Regions from separate parts of the Homo sapiens genome. Here regions 2 and 3 are each linked to region 1. Evidence: promoter capture Hi-C in 16 types of primary human blood cells and fetal thymus (Javierre and others, 2016). All regions are on one chromosome and are shown on one strand. The core of a region is centred on a gene start or on the middle of the fragment in contact, and the rest is flanking DNA. Distances in the headings are between cores, read along the strand shown.

The links. Contacts are between HindIII fragments. The CHiCAGO score rates a contact against its expected background, and 5 or more counts as called.
Region 2: a fragment that was not itself captured here is called in contact with the fragment with the promoter of LINC01164 in region 1 in 3 of 17 cell types (naive CD8 T cells, total B cells and total CD8 T cells); the score reaches 8.9 in naive CD8 T cells.
Region 3: a contact is called between a fragment that was not itself captured here and the fragment with the promoter of LINC01164 in region 1, in 2 of 17 cell types (endothelial precursors and naive CD8 T cells). The highest score is 10.2, in endothelial precursors.

Annotation. Positions count from the first base shown.
Region 1 is chr10:131,787,921-131,792,666 of GRCh38, forward strand. It overlaps LINC01164 (long intergenic non-protein coding RNA 1164), which reads right to left and starts at 2,279. Exons shown (of 5, transcript NR_038365.1): 1 at 2,157-2,279; 2 at 1,737-1,946. The HindIII fragment of the contact is 4,036 bases long and covers 1,897-4,746 here.
Region 2 is chr10:130,174,423-130,179,168 of GRCh38, forward strand. It overlaps GLRX3 (glutaredoxin 3), which reads left to right. Exons shown (of 11, transcript NM_006541.5): 9 at 445-484; 10 at 575-667. Among named protein-coding and RNA genes, the nearest start is that of GLRX3, 40 kb to the left of the region's middle. The HindIII fragment of the contact is 1,430 bases long and covers 2,096-3,525 here.
Region 3 is chr10:130,211,545-130,216,290 of GRCh38, forward strand. No RefSeq gene overlaps it. Among named protein-coding and RNA genes, the nearest start is that of GLRX3, 78 kb to the left of the region's middle. The HindIII fragment of the contact is 5,254 bases long and covers 1-4,741 here.

The sequences.
Region 1 (4,746 bases), core at 1,029-3,528:
AAGGAAAATGAGCAGACATATATACACATATATAAGAATTATAATCTGATATGACAAGTGTTCGTCCAAAGGCACTACGGGAGCAAGAGGAAGAAGCAATTTCTTCTATCTGATTTGAGGGGTGGCAGGGAGAAAAAGTTGCCATTTCAGCTAAGGAAAGAGATGGGTAACCCCAACCCCAATGTGAAAGACACATATTCAAAGCAGGGAACTGCATGGGGGAAAGCTCAGCAGCATCAAAGTTCACAGGACCAGCACGTGCTCTGGGGTCAGGTCGCCAAAGCCACAGAGTGAAGCTAAACTTCAGCTTGGTGTTTTGCAAAATCTTTTATTCTTTCTCCTTGATTGTCCCCTACAGTGAACCTTCCCACCAGTCCTATTCTATAAAATGTTCCCTTCCCTCACACTCCAGGGATTATCCAGGGTGCAGAACAGGGAGGAGTATGCCCCATCTCGTGTGCAAAACCTCATTATGTAAGGTAATTCTATGGGATACCTTTTATACCCCACATGAAAACCCTCCCAGCCTCACCTCGCACTTCACCCAGTACCTCCCAGGCTCTGATCCACTTTGCATAGGTGTCACCTGACACCACCTGGGCTCGGAGATCTGCTCACCTCTTACTTCCTGCCTTGGCCCCGGGGTCACCTGCAGGAGGCTGCTCAGCAATCACAGTTATGCAAGTCTCCAAAGACAGGGCCTCCACGGCCAGGACAGAAGCAGATAATAAGTTCTCTTTCCTTTACTGTCCCAAGGAGACTGTGCTGAGATGCATTTCATAAAGGGCCTCAGAAGGTCTCAAAAAGCCCAGCATCAGCCACTCCAAGCGGCTGTCGATTGGATAAGCCATCTGGTATTCCCATTCACTCCTTCCCTCCCTCGCTCAACTCACTCCTGCTCGCCTGAGCCCTGAGACCCCTGCCCAAAGAAACAGCCTGAACTCAAGCCTTTGTCCCTAGCTCTGCTGGAGAAGCTCCATCTAAGACCACTGATACCACACCTGAAAGCTCTAGATAGCAGACCTTCAGGATAGAATTTGGGGGCTAGTCCCCTCGCCAATCCAGCACACAGAGGAACCCCATTGCCAGTGGCAATTGGGGAAGTAATAAGCCCCTGGCCTCAGCTGCCTCATCATCACCAAGAAGGGCACTGGAATAGGGCTAGAGAGAGGTGCAGGGAGGTGCGGGGGAGGTACAGGGGAGGCACAGGGGAGACAGGCTTTGCACTGGCATCCATGACACCTTAGAGACTCCCCATCCAGCAGGGTAGGGGTCCCCAACTCCCAGCCATGAACCAGTACCAGTCTGTGGCCTGTTAGGAGCCAGGCCACACAGCAGGTGAGCAGCAGGCTGAGGAGCACTGCTACCCAAGCTCACCCTCCTGTCAGATCAGCAGCGGCATTAGATTCTCATAGGAGCACAATCCCTATTGTGAACCGTGCTTTTGAGGGATCTCGGTTGCCCACTGCTTATGAGAATCTAATACCTGATGATCTGAGATGGAACAGTTTCATCCCCAAACCATCCCCACCCCCAGTCTGTGGAGAAATTGTCTTCCACAAAACGTGTCCCTGGTGCCAAAAAGGTTGAGGACCACTGCGCCAGGGCGTTGGATTCAGAAGGTCTTGCAGAGGGTGCATCAGCAATATGCATTTCTAACTGGCAGCAAAAGTCCTCTTACAAAACGTTCATCTACTGTAGAAAGATTTAGGATGTAGAAACAAAAGAAATGTCACCTGTAACTCTGCCATGGGTCAGTGTGCACCATCTCAGGCTCTTCTGCACGCCCATGTGGGTGGGGTCGGGGTTGGGTGTCTCGGCCAGGTGGAGGCTGGGCCAGGCCCCAAAGCTGTGGGCGGCAGATGCTGCATCCACCTCCTCTGGCTTGGATCTAGAAGCTTCCTCCTCTCTCTTCCTCTTGCCTGAATTGACACAGGAGATGAAGCCTGGGGAAAATGGACCAGAACTCAGACCCCAACCCCCAACCTACAATGACATTCAAGGATGTAAGACGCACATGATAGATTTGTTAGCACAGTGTTATCTGTAAATCAGAGCTGTGTTCACTGTCAGTTAGAACAGGCTGGGTTATACCGAGTAACAAATGTCCTGCAATCACAGAGGCTTCCCTCCACAAAGATCTGCCTGTCACTCACCACGTGCCCAGGGCTTGGCTCAGCCCTTCACAGGTGGATGGGCATTCGCAAACTGGAGCACGGCAGCCTGTCATAGAGACAGGAAATGAGCACATGGTGAACAAGTGCTGGCTCTTAGCTTCTGCCCAGCAGAGCCCCATGACACTTCTGCTCACATTTCATTGGCCAAGGCAAGTCACATGGCCCTACTGCCACATGACACTTGTACTTGAATTTCATTGGCCAAGGCAAGTCCCCTTGCTTTGCCTGCTTCAGAGGAGCAGGGATGTTCAGTGAGCAAATCACCCTGAGAACTTGATGACTGTCCTTGCTCCATTCTTTCTTTTATCACGGTCCTTTGTCCACCGACACATCACCAGCTCTGGACTGGAGCTCCAGTAGAGAGGGCACCAGGCACACTCATCCTTGTATCCCACAGGGACTGCCATCATTGGCAGACAGGCAGTCTACTTCTCTTTTTCCTGCCAAGAGTCGGAGAGAGCAGTGACTTCCACAACACTGGCCCTGCAGACTTTGTAACCTAAGTTCCCAAAAATGGACTAAAAAGTAATGAGTTCTTATCCTGACTATTCACTCAGCAATACTTAGTTATTAAACATCTTCTATGTGCCAGGTACATAATGTGGAGAATAAATAGAAGTAGAAAATAAGAAAATGAAAATATCCTACAGGTTATCTCTTATTCAAAATGGTTGGGACCAGAAAGGTTTTGAGTTTTGGATTTTGGAATATTTACATTACACTTAATGGTTGAGCATTTTGAATCCAAAAGTCTAAAATCTAAAATGCTCCAGTGAGCATTTCCTTTGAGCATCATGTCAGCACTCAGAAAGTTTCAGATTTTGGAGCATTTCAGATTTCAGATTTTTAGATTCAAGATGCTCAACCTGTATAATTTCACCACTCTGGGGGACCTACTTAACATTTTTTATATATTTCCTTTCCGTTTTTTTCTATGGATTTTTTTGGTCATGCCGACTTAAATAATTTTCTCTTTTTTTTCACTTAAAGTTATAACTACAACAGTCTTAAGAACTCTTTGAAAATTTAATTTTAAAGACTGAATCATATTGCCTTTAATGTGGATTACATCAGTGCAGGTTATTTATTGGGCCATCTTATTATCATTAAACACTTTGGGTCATTTCACTTTTTTATTTTTTAAAATGCTATGATTAGTATCATTTTTAAAATTATACCTCAAAAAGTCTTTGTAAGAAGATTATTCATAAGGCGTAAGCATAAGGAAACCTTCTTATGAGATCATTTGTTCCACAACAATTTATCTCAGCCTAATTGCCTTTTATTGGCCATAGAGCTGTTCACTTCCTCAGCAACCCAGGGTTCAAGTCCTGTAAAACACAACACTGGGCAGTTCTAGAAGAGAGAAGCGTTTCTGGAGCTTGGCTCTAAAATCTTCAGATCACAACAATTTTCACAATGAAATAAAATTTAATTTTTGGCTCACATAGTAAAAGATTATATCAGATTTCTCATTCCTCGGAAAATCAGAGAGAACTTAATAACAAATACCATAATTATCTGCAAAGACTGAACGGTGATTAAATTATCAGGAGGCCGTTACTCCTAAAACTATTTCTTTAATTAGCTAAAGCTGGCAGTATATATTAATATTTCCTGAGATATTTGCATACATTCACAACAGGCTAACCAGACATTAGCTGAAATATAATTTTTCTAATATTATGTTAGAAATATTTTAAGATTAAATCATATTATCATGTTTTTTCCTGTGATTATTAGAGCAGACACTCTTGATTTATCACCATAAATTCTCTAATTTAGGAGCTGAAAATGCTTCTCGTTTTCCATGATGAGCTTTTTCAATTCCATTTACACAATAGAAGGTGCTCTTTGAAGCCCAGATCTGCTGGTAGAACGTGGTTTTTGATAATCCACATCTGCACACTGCTCCCAGACAAACACAAGGAAGCCCACCCTAATATGTAGCTGGCAGGACCCCGGCCATTCAGATTCCGTGGCCACAGCAGGAAAAGCGTCTGGGTAGCAGTGGGTGCAGGGACAGGGTGAGGGGAGCTGGTCCTGGCTGGCCACAGCACCAAAGAGCGGAGGACATGTCAGCAAGCAGGATTTGAATGAGGGTCGAACAGGTCTTTCTCAACTCCATCCCAGCCTGCATAGAGGACAGGACACTCAATTGAATTGGGCAACTCACAGAAGGTCCCAAAAGGGGGTCAGTACAGAGGTGTGGGGATGGTCAGGGAGGCCACACCTGGGAATCACAGCAAGGCTCTGTCACCACCACTGGGGACAGGAAACTGGGGAGTCCTGTGGTGAGCCCCAGAGCAGAGGACCGCCCAACAGGAACCAAGCCCTCAGGGGAGGGGCGCAGCCAGCTCCAGGCTGCCCCGGGGGAGGGAGCAGAAAATAAAGGTTCTGACCACTCTCCATTCTCTTTCTCCACACCCCTGCCCAGGTCCCTTTGGCCAAACCCAGCAGAAGCCAGAGGGGAAGGAGACTCACAGATGTAGCCCCGCAGGTCGGCGTCCAGGACCTAAGAGGGGTAGGACACGAGGAGAACCTGGGAGACATGTGGAAGTTGCTGGGC
Region 2 (4,746 bases), core at 1,561-4,060, 1.6 Mb before region 1:
GGGGTTGGCAAGTTGCAGCTGGCTGCCCATTTTTGTAAATAAAGTTATATTGGCACATAGCCACATCCCTTCATTTATACATTGTCTGTGGCTGCTTTTATGCTGACAGTTGCAGCAGAGAGCAGAACTGAGCAGTTGCAGCAGAGACTGTCTGGCCTGTAAAGCCTGAAGTGTTTAGTGTCTGACTCTTTAAGAAGAAGTTTGCCCACCCCTGGTCTAACCCAATATTGTCCGGAGAAAAATCCAGATAAAGTCATATGTTGGAATGACTAATTCTGTGTAGTACCAGACAGATTAAGAAGTAAAATCATTTCCATTGGTCTGTAGTACATTTTGTTAGCAGTGAAACGGTTTTCTTGATTATTTTAAAAACATCAAATGCATAGAGGTTTTACACTTTGATTTAACTGTATTTCCAGTTAAAATGTCTTCTCTTTTTTGCAGTGTTGAATATGAAACATTCGATATATTGGAGGATGAAGAAGTAAGTTCTGTGTTTGATGTTTCACCCTTGTCTTAGCTTTAATCTTAAGGGCCTGATAGGATGGTTTCAGGATTCCTGTTGTTTCTTTAGGTTCGGCAAGGATTAAAAGCTTACTCAAATTGGCCAACATACCCTCAGCTGTATGTGAAAGGGGAGCTGGTGGGAGGATTGGATATTGTGAAGGTAAGGCCAGTTCTTCTGCTGTTCTAAAGAACGGAAAAGATTTTGGTATGTTTAAAAATGATTTCATATTGAATGGAAACTTGAGAGTTGTTTTTGACTCCTGTTTCCAGCCTGACTCTCAGACATTTCTAGACCAGTATCACCGTTTCTGTGTGCATGACTACCCTGCCATTCTCACTGTCCCCACGTGGCAGCCTGTTCTTACTTTCACACCTGAGCTAACCATTGCATCTCCTTTCTGTGGGGTGATCTTCCCTGTCACTCAGGGTCCTTGTTAGATCCTGCTTCAGCTCCCAGACAACAAATTGTTTTTTCTTGCCTTACTCATCTGCCCTTGGGTGCATGGAGTGACAGCAGTGTGAGGCCTGTGGCCCGGTGCTGCCCATCCTTGCCACAGAGGCTGAGGATCACTGCCCCTGGTCCCCCGAAAGAAAAAATGTAGGTCCTTTTTGGTTTTGAGATGCTTGGAAATCTGTTATCTGTTAGATTGTGTTTTAGATAAGACACCATTTCTTATGTATCTTGAGTCCTTCCTGATGCTTTGTGTATTTTAGGAGTTCAGTAAATGGTTGTTGGATGGATAAGTGACTTTACTTCTTGATTGAGTTTTAAATGGACGTTACTTTGCATGTATTTAATGTCTAGAATTCAGGGCAGGCCCACCAACTAACACCTGTGTGCTCTGTAGCTCTTTGATTAGCCCAAAACAATAAACAGAAGCTGTAGCTTTAATATCTACACACAGACCCCACTGCACCCCAGGCCCACTGTGGGCATGGTGGCATCGAGGAGGGTGGTAGCTGGTTGGGTATAGAGAGGAGCTAGACAGGAATGCTGGGCAGGAATGCCAGGGTCTGCTCAGGGGCATGAACAAAACTGCCCCGAAAAGTGGGTTGCTGACTGCCCTCAGGCCTTCCTCTTGCCTCAATCCATGAGAGAATTTTCTGAGGTCAGATCTTCGACTTTTTATGTGGAAAACAAATAGCAAGTAGTACTACTTCTAGTTATGTTGTAAAATAAAAGTTTTTTTTTTTTTTTTACATTTTTTTTTGAGAGAGTTTCGCTCTTGTTCCCCACTGGAGTGCAATGGTGCAATCTCGGCTCACTGCAGCCTCTGCCTCCCAGGTTCATGTGATTCTCCTGCCTCAGCCTCCTGAGTAGCTGGGATTACAGGCACCCGCCACCACGCCCCACTAATTTTTGTATTTTTAGTAGAGATGGGGTTTCACCATGTTGGCCAGGCTGGTCTTGAACTGCTGACCCCAGGTGATCCGCCCACCTTGGCCTCCCAAAGTGCTGGGATTACAGGCATGAGTCACCGCGCCTGGCCAAAATAAAAGTTTTTAACACGTGCTTTTGTAAAGTGAAGCACTAGCCTACCACTGAAATGACATCAGCACTTTGGACCAATATGTTTTATAAAAACAAAGCTTGAGTTCCATTGATGCAGAGGCTCTTTTTGTCCTTTGGTGGCCTCTGTGTAGGTTTTGTTTCCTGTGGAGTTCCAGGTTTGATATCATACTTCTTAAACAAGCCAGTGAGACATTTTTCCTGGGGAATGGTCTCACTCCTGGAGGAAAAAATTTTTAAGACTATTGCTCTTGAATAGCCCTGAAGCAGCAGAAACAGATCTGCATTTGTTTCTTCCCTCCCTCCCTCCTTCCCTCCCTCCCTCCCTCCCTCTTTCTCTCTCTCTCTCTCTCTATATATATATATATAGTCTTATTTTTGTAAGACACAAAGAATACTCAAACCCCAAATACTCTTGAGCCTGTTCTTGTCTGAATGTTTTATAGCCTGTACCTTAGCCATTGGTAACTCTTGGGAAGATACAATCAATAAATCTCATTTAATTCTAAAGCTAAGCTGCGTGGGTAACTTCTTTTTAGTTATATAACAGAGTGTTATATGATTTTTTATGTTCACCTGCTAAGAACATATACGTTTGAAATGTGTGATATTGTTAACGTTTTTCCTTGAGAAGATATATGGAATAGATCTTACGATCCCATTTTGATCTGTTTCTTGCAGAATGCAGTTCTTCATGTTCAGTTCAATTAAAAGATGTTTGAAATGGTCTAATCTGGCTGGCCTCTTTGGAGCAATGAGCGTTTGTTTTGTTGAATGAGGGACTGAATGATGATTTAGTTACTCAGCTAATCTAGTGTCCTGAGAAAATTGTGAGTTGTTATTGCCTCTGAAGAGTAAACGGTTCACTACTGCTGTTCCAGAATGTTTGGACTTAAGACAGTTTGTTGAGAGAGATAGAAGATTTGGTTAGGTTTAGACTTTCCACCTGCCGGCTCGCATTAACAGCAGTGAGGGTGGCGAGGACTGCCTTATTTGGCGCGCTCCCAATGTTCCAGGCACACTGCTTTGGTGCTTTAAGAGGCTGCTTCACGTAATCTCCCAAGCAGCCTCAGAGAGCAGAATTCTTCTTAGTCAGTAGATGAGGAAACAGAGACATAGAGAGGTCAGGTGAATTGTCCACCATCCCATAACTAGTAAGCCATTGAGTCCAGATTCCACCTGAGGGCCACCTGCCCTTGCCCACTCAGCTGCGTGGTCCTCTCCGTGCCTTCTTGAGTGTGTGCTCAGAAAAGTCCTGCTGGGTCCCTTGGAGGGGCAGGGTGTCTGCTTGTTGAGTAGGTAGAAGAAGATCCCTAGACATGACTGAAAGCCGTCTGGGTTTTGTGTGACAGCATCATTCCTATTTGAATTTCATCCAGAGGAGGTCATACGGATTTTAATGGTTTTATTGATTGATGTTTATGCTGTTCAGTGATAACCTGAAATGTTATATCATACTAAATGTTTCTTTAAACCAGAAAATCTTATTTATCATGTCTGTCCTTTCAAGCTTGGTGTCTATAATCCAGATTTTAAATCTGAAAAACAGGCACAAGGAGCATGGCGCCTGTACTGCAGTTCCAGTCAACCTGGTGGTAGCTCTTTTGATGCCATGTCTGTTTCTGAATTGTTAGGTCTTTTTAATGGTTTCTGCCTTTCCCTCTTACTGGTACTCTAGCTTTTCCTGAGGCAGAGATGTGTTGCCAGGTTGGGTTTCAATAGCAAAGCCTGATTCCTCTCTGTGAGTGGAAGAACGGGAGGGGAACAAGCATCATATTTGAGTAGACTTTTAACGTCACACTGCTTTTTTTTTCTTCCTTTTTTTCGAGACAGAGTCTCACTCTGTCACCCAGGCTGGAGTGCAGTGGTGCAATCTTGGCTCTTGGGTCACTGCACCCTCCACCTTCTGGGTTCAAGCAATTTTCATGCCTCAGCCTCCTAAGTAGCTAGAATTACAGGCACATGCCACCATGCCCACCTGGCTAATTTTTTTTTTAATAGAGATGGGTTTTGTCATGTTGGCCAGGCTGGGCTTGAACTCCTGACTTCAAGTGATCTGCCCCCTTGGCCTCTTAAAGTGCTGGGATTATAGGTGTGAGCCACTGCGCCCAGCCACATTACTTCATTCTTCAACCTTGAAAGTCACTTGATTTATTTTCCTTATTTATTGCTACAGTTTAAATAGGGGCTTCATTGGCTCCAGTTGCTGCGTTTCCTAATACTAAACAATCTGTTGGTTTTAGGATACCTTAACTTCATTTATTTATTTATGAATGAATGAATGAGATGGAGTCTCGCTCTAGCCCAGGCTGGAGTGCAATGGCACGATCTTGGCTCACTACAATCTCCACCTCCCGGGTTCAGGAGATTCTCCCTGTCTCAGCCTCCTGAGTAGCTGGGATTACAGGTGCCCGCCACCATGCCCAACTGATTTTTGTATTTTTAGTAGAGACGGGGTTTCACCATGTTGGCCAGGCTGTTCTGCAACTCCTGACCTCAGGTGATCTGCCCTCCTCGGCCTCCCAACGTGCTGGGATTACAGGCATGAGCCACTGCACCCAGCCTTATTTATTTATTTTTTAAGAGACAGATTTCACCATGTTGGTCAGGCTGGTCTTGAACTCCTGGCCTCAAGTGATCTGCCCACCTCGGCCTCCCAAAGTGCTGGGATTACATTTGTGAGCCACCACACCTGGCCAAGAATACCTTGTTAAATTTTTTAACCTGAT
Region 3 (4,746 bases), core at 865-3,364, 1.6 Mb before region 1:
AAAGCACAGACGGTCCTGTGGTTTTGTGTTCCTTTTTCCTTGGCAAACTAAATCTCTAAGTTGATTGAGATGCACCTGGGTAATTTTTCTTTGATTTTCAACTCCATGACAAAACAAGAGGACTTTATTCCATAGGCGAAAGAAAGCCATGGCGGTGGCATGAGACTGAGGTGGGATGAGAGACTCTGATGTCAGCCACAGCTGCCACTGCCATGCTCATGCACGCCCTTTCCGCAGGTGCCTGTCCCTTTCATCAAATGGATTGCCTCAACCTGGGGCGGGGGCTTCAGGTGCGGATGCTTCTGCAGGGCAACCGGCATTACTTCCAGAGCTTGCTCTTTGACACAGCTGGGTCTAAACTCCCTTCATGGGGTTGGCCTGACTTTGGGTGTAACAGAGTGAGGACCCCACGCCCAGTGGTACCTGTGTGGACAATTCCCTCCCCTTCAGTTCCAGCCTCTGGCCCGGAGTGGCTGAGCTGTTGGTTCCTGGGAAGGCCGCTCCTCCTCCAAGGCTGCTGAACTGCTGTGTGGGCAAGGGTGATGGTCCTGCACACAGCCACATGCAGCCCTGGTGGCCACTCAGCACTGGGGTTACCTGCTTTGTGTAAACACACCAGTCTTGTGGGTGATGCGCTGTTGGGGCTGGTCGGTAGCCCTGGAGACCCCAGGGTGCAAGTAGCGGGAGGGTCTGCTCCTCCAACACTCTCCCAGGTCAGAACTAGCCGCCTGCTCTGGAAGCTCCTCCTCCTGGGGGGAGCCACTGAGGGAGTCTTTGTCCCTCTCACACTTTTCTTTCTGCTGGAGCCACCTCGTCTCTCAGGAGGCATCGGGTGGGTGGGGGAGCGCCGTGGTCTGGGCTGCATCAGAGCTCTCTGAGCACTGGGACCCCTCCTTTGCCTGGACCCTTCCCAGGGCCTCCTGATGACATTCCTGGGCCCTTACTCTACAAAAAACATTAAAAATTGTATTTTAGATTGTGTTGGTGCAAAGATGAGTATAGTGAAGAAGTTCACCATTTTGTTTGTTGCCAGAAATGAAACATTTCCAGGGTCCCCAGCCGGCGTCTGCTATGCCTGATGGACAGGCTTCTGGGGTGGGGGCGGGAAGCTCCCATCAGGCCCCCTTCCCCTCCCCTCCCACTGGGGACCCCTGCCTCCAGACGGCCTCCAATGCCCGGTACTCTCCTGCTCTGATCTCCTTCTGTGGCAGGACGGGGCTCACATCAATGTCCTCCCATCTTACCCCTGCCAGTCCCCAGCGCCCAGCACAAGGCTGGACACAGAAATAAACATCGCCCTTTGGAATAAACAAATGTGAGAGTGACTCCTGACCTGAACAGCCCAGCCCCCTACCCCGGGCCTTTCCCAGCTGTCATAAATCTAATGGCTTTTATTGCCCTAGGATTTTTACAGTACCCATTACCATAGCAGTTGGGAACTTAATTGGCAAAATTAAGGACATGTACTTAGGAACTTCTAGTAAATATTTGCTAATGGATTCATATTAGCAGGTCCTGCTGGGACATCTGGTACAGTCAGAACTTGTCTGCCTAAAAACTTGTCCCAAAGCTGGGGGAAGCTGTTTCCTGGCCTGAACTTTCTCTGGGGCTGTGAGAGGCGAGGGCTCAGGAAAAGATGGTCAGGTTCAGTGGAATTTGGATCCTTGAAAGGAAGAAAAGGGTGACGGAAAGGGCAGAGGGAACTGCAACTGGATCCTAAGCCACCCCGTCTGTGACCTGGGCCTTGTCACCGCAAGGCTCTCGTGTTGGTTGGAACTCCGAGAGCGCCGACAGACAACACGAGGCGGTGTGGAGCGACAGGCTGTTTCAGCGAGCGCCCAGGTGCGGGCGGCTCGAGGCCTAAAATGGCGTCAGCACCAAATGAGGGCGGGGCAGGGGTTTTATGGTCTCCTGGAAACAGGAAGTGTCTCAGTCTGACGTAACTGCTACGCGGTACCCGGATGGCCTCTCTCCGGGTCTTCGGGGGTGCGCGTCTTCCGGCCGACCCTCCTCCTGCTCCTGCTATGTTGCTGACCCACGCTGCTGGCGCGAGTGGTCTTGCCCCTCGGGACCCGAGGAGGGAGGAGTTCTTCGTTCCCTTCAGCTTTCAGGCCCCAGGGAGAACCTTTCAGTCACAGGCAGCCTAGGTTCAAGAAGAAGAAAACCTGAGGCCTCGGCTCACCCTGACAGGGAAGTGGCGTGGGGACCGCTAAAGGACTGCGAGGTTCCACTGCCCAGGGCTGTCTAACCGCTTGCTTTAGACTGTGGGTGCACGGAGTCCGTCACTCAGCCTCCAGGACCAGGGCTCCTGATGTGTGAGCGCGTTCCATTCCCCCATTCCCACAAGAACCCTCGCTCCCGCGAAGGCCTCCTGAGCTTGCGCGACTCCGCTGGGCCTTGGAGAGCTCTGGGGAGGGAGGCGCCTCTCCAGCACCCAGATCCCCAGCCTGCAGCGCCTCGGGGCCAGTGTGGCCCGGAATGGCAGGTGAGTTTACAGGGGGGTCTCCGGGGCCTTTCCTAAGTCTATAGACCCATGTCCTTTTGAGAATTCTGAATTGACTCCAAATGGAAGGCTTACCATGCGATTGAAAAAATCGAAACAAAACCGCAGGACCCTATTCGTCCCTGGCCTCCTCTGGCTCATGCTCTGTGCATTTGCTGGAACCCCTCTCTACTGCAGAGGTCACCAGGAGGGTCTGTGCGGGGTCTGGGGATGGGTAGCGAAGCGCAGTTTCCAGTCCTCCCAGCAGCAGCTGTTTTCCTGAGGGACTTTCTGGGACCCAGTGTGTTCCAGGTGGTGGATTCCTCTTTGTGTTTTACTGCTCGTGGTGAGGAAATAGGTGGAGGTTAGAACAGAGATCCCAAAACAGGACTGAATCCAAAGCAGGCTAGGGCAGGAGGTCTCACTGGTGTCCCAAACCATCACCTCCAACGGGGGTCAAGAAGGGTCTGGAAGGCCTGGTGCAGTAATCGCCACTCAGGAGGAGGTGGAGGAGAGGGAAGGTCTGGGCATGGGAGGGCCCATTTTCCAGGGGGAGTTGTACTTGGTGAATCCTAAGATACAGGCCTGCTGCCGCTGCCTCTGCTGCCTTCAGAGCGTGCTCCGGGGCCTGAAGGTGGTGTGCTGTGCACCTTGGGAGCCATGCTTTATGAGTGCAAGAGGGAGTGACTAGGATGTATTTCAGCATGTCTCGCTTCTAAACTCATCACATCATAGATGGGTTCCCAACCTGTGTGAATGTCAGAATCACCTGAAGAGTTTTAAAGACGCAGGTTTCCAGGCCTGTGGCCAGCCTTGGAGAGCCCTAGGAGGGTGAGAGGGGTGGATCTGGCTGTGTTCATTTAATAGTCCTATCACCATTGGCCATAGCCAATGGTATATAGTGTATCCATGTAACAGTCCTATCGTCACTGGCCGTCAGTATGTAGTGTGTTCGTTTAACAGTCCTATCGTCACTGGCCCTCGGTATATAGTGCACATATTTCAAAAATATTGGTTAATGTTTTACCCAGGTGAATTTGAAAAAGAAAACCAGAGAGAAAGCTGACATGCAGCAGTGCCCCCAAAGGTGGGGACTCCAACTCAGGGGCCACCTGGTTTAGTAGGGGCTTGTTGAAAATGCAGGTTCCTGGGCCCCATCCCCAGCTACTGTATCTGCACCTCCTGGGCTGGGGCCCTACATGTGCGTGCTAAATGCATGCCCAGGGGATTTGGGGTCAGGGCCTGATGACAGCGGTGCTGGAAGCGACTGCAGACTGCTGCCTCCTGGGTCCTTCTGGGCTTCTGATTCTGTACCCTGTGGCCCAGGAGATACACACTGCCCTGAGAGGGCTGTACCGGCTGTTGGAGATGCGGCGCTCATTAATAATGCATTCCAGGGGTCAGCTGCAAGATTACCACTTAAAACAGAATCCTGCTAACTTCTGACACAAAATCAATGCCATCAGCACCATCAGAAGCAGCCTGGGAGGTGAGGCCTTCGATGTACCCCCGTGGGCTGGGGTCACAGGACTGGTCCTGCTCGCTGGCAGCTCTATCAAAACCAGCTCCAGCTTCCTTGGAGGCCAAGAGGGCCCAGGCGGTGAATGGCTGGCCCGGCCATCCTGGGTGTCCTAACCTGGCCTGGCAAGGTGTGGCCTTGGCTGGTGGGGGAGGCCTGCAGGTGCAGAGGCACTTCATTGGTGGAGAGTGAAGTGGCAGGTGCAGAGGCACTTCACTGGTTGTTGCTTCCCCAGTCAGTTGCAGCCTGTTTGCACTAAACATCAGCTTCACGTTGACAGCAGAATCTGATGAGCTTTTGGACAGACAACCTTGGGAATCCCCACAGGCCCTGGAGGTGGTGTCGCATCCTGTCCTGGTTGCCTTCATTTTGTGCCCTTGCTTCATAGACCTTTATTTAGCAAATTTATTTGAGTCAAAGTTGACTTCCTTTTCAGCTTTGTCACACACTGCCGCTGGAGTGGGACTTGGCGTGGCTTTTCTGGAGGGCGACCTACATCAAGGGGCATGCATGCGCCCTTTGAGCTACAGATTTCTCAGCTGGGAATGAATTATGAATGTCCTTTAGCCTTGGCCGAGAGGGTGTACAGCTCTGCAGTGTTCCTGTCGGAAACTGGAAATAGCCTGAGTGTTCTCCATTATGAATTAGTGCAAATGAAACACGGCTGAGCCTTACGGTGGCATAGGATGCAGTCATTAGAATACAACATTCGAAAAAGGAAGAGCTGGTCGTTTGGTAAAAGCTT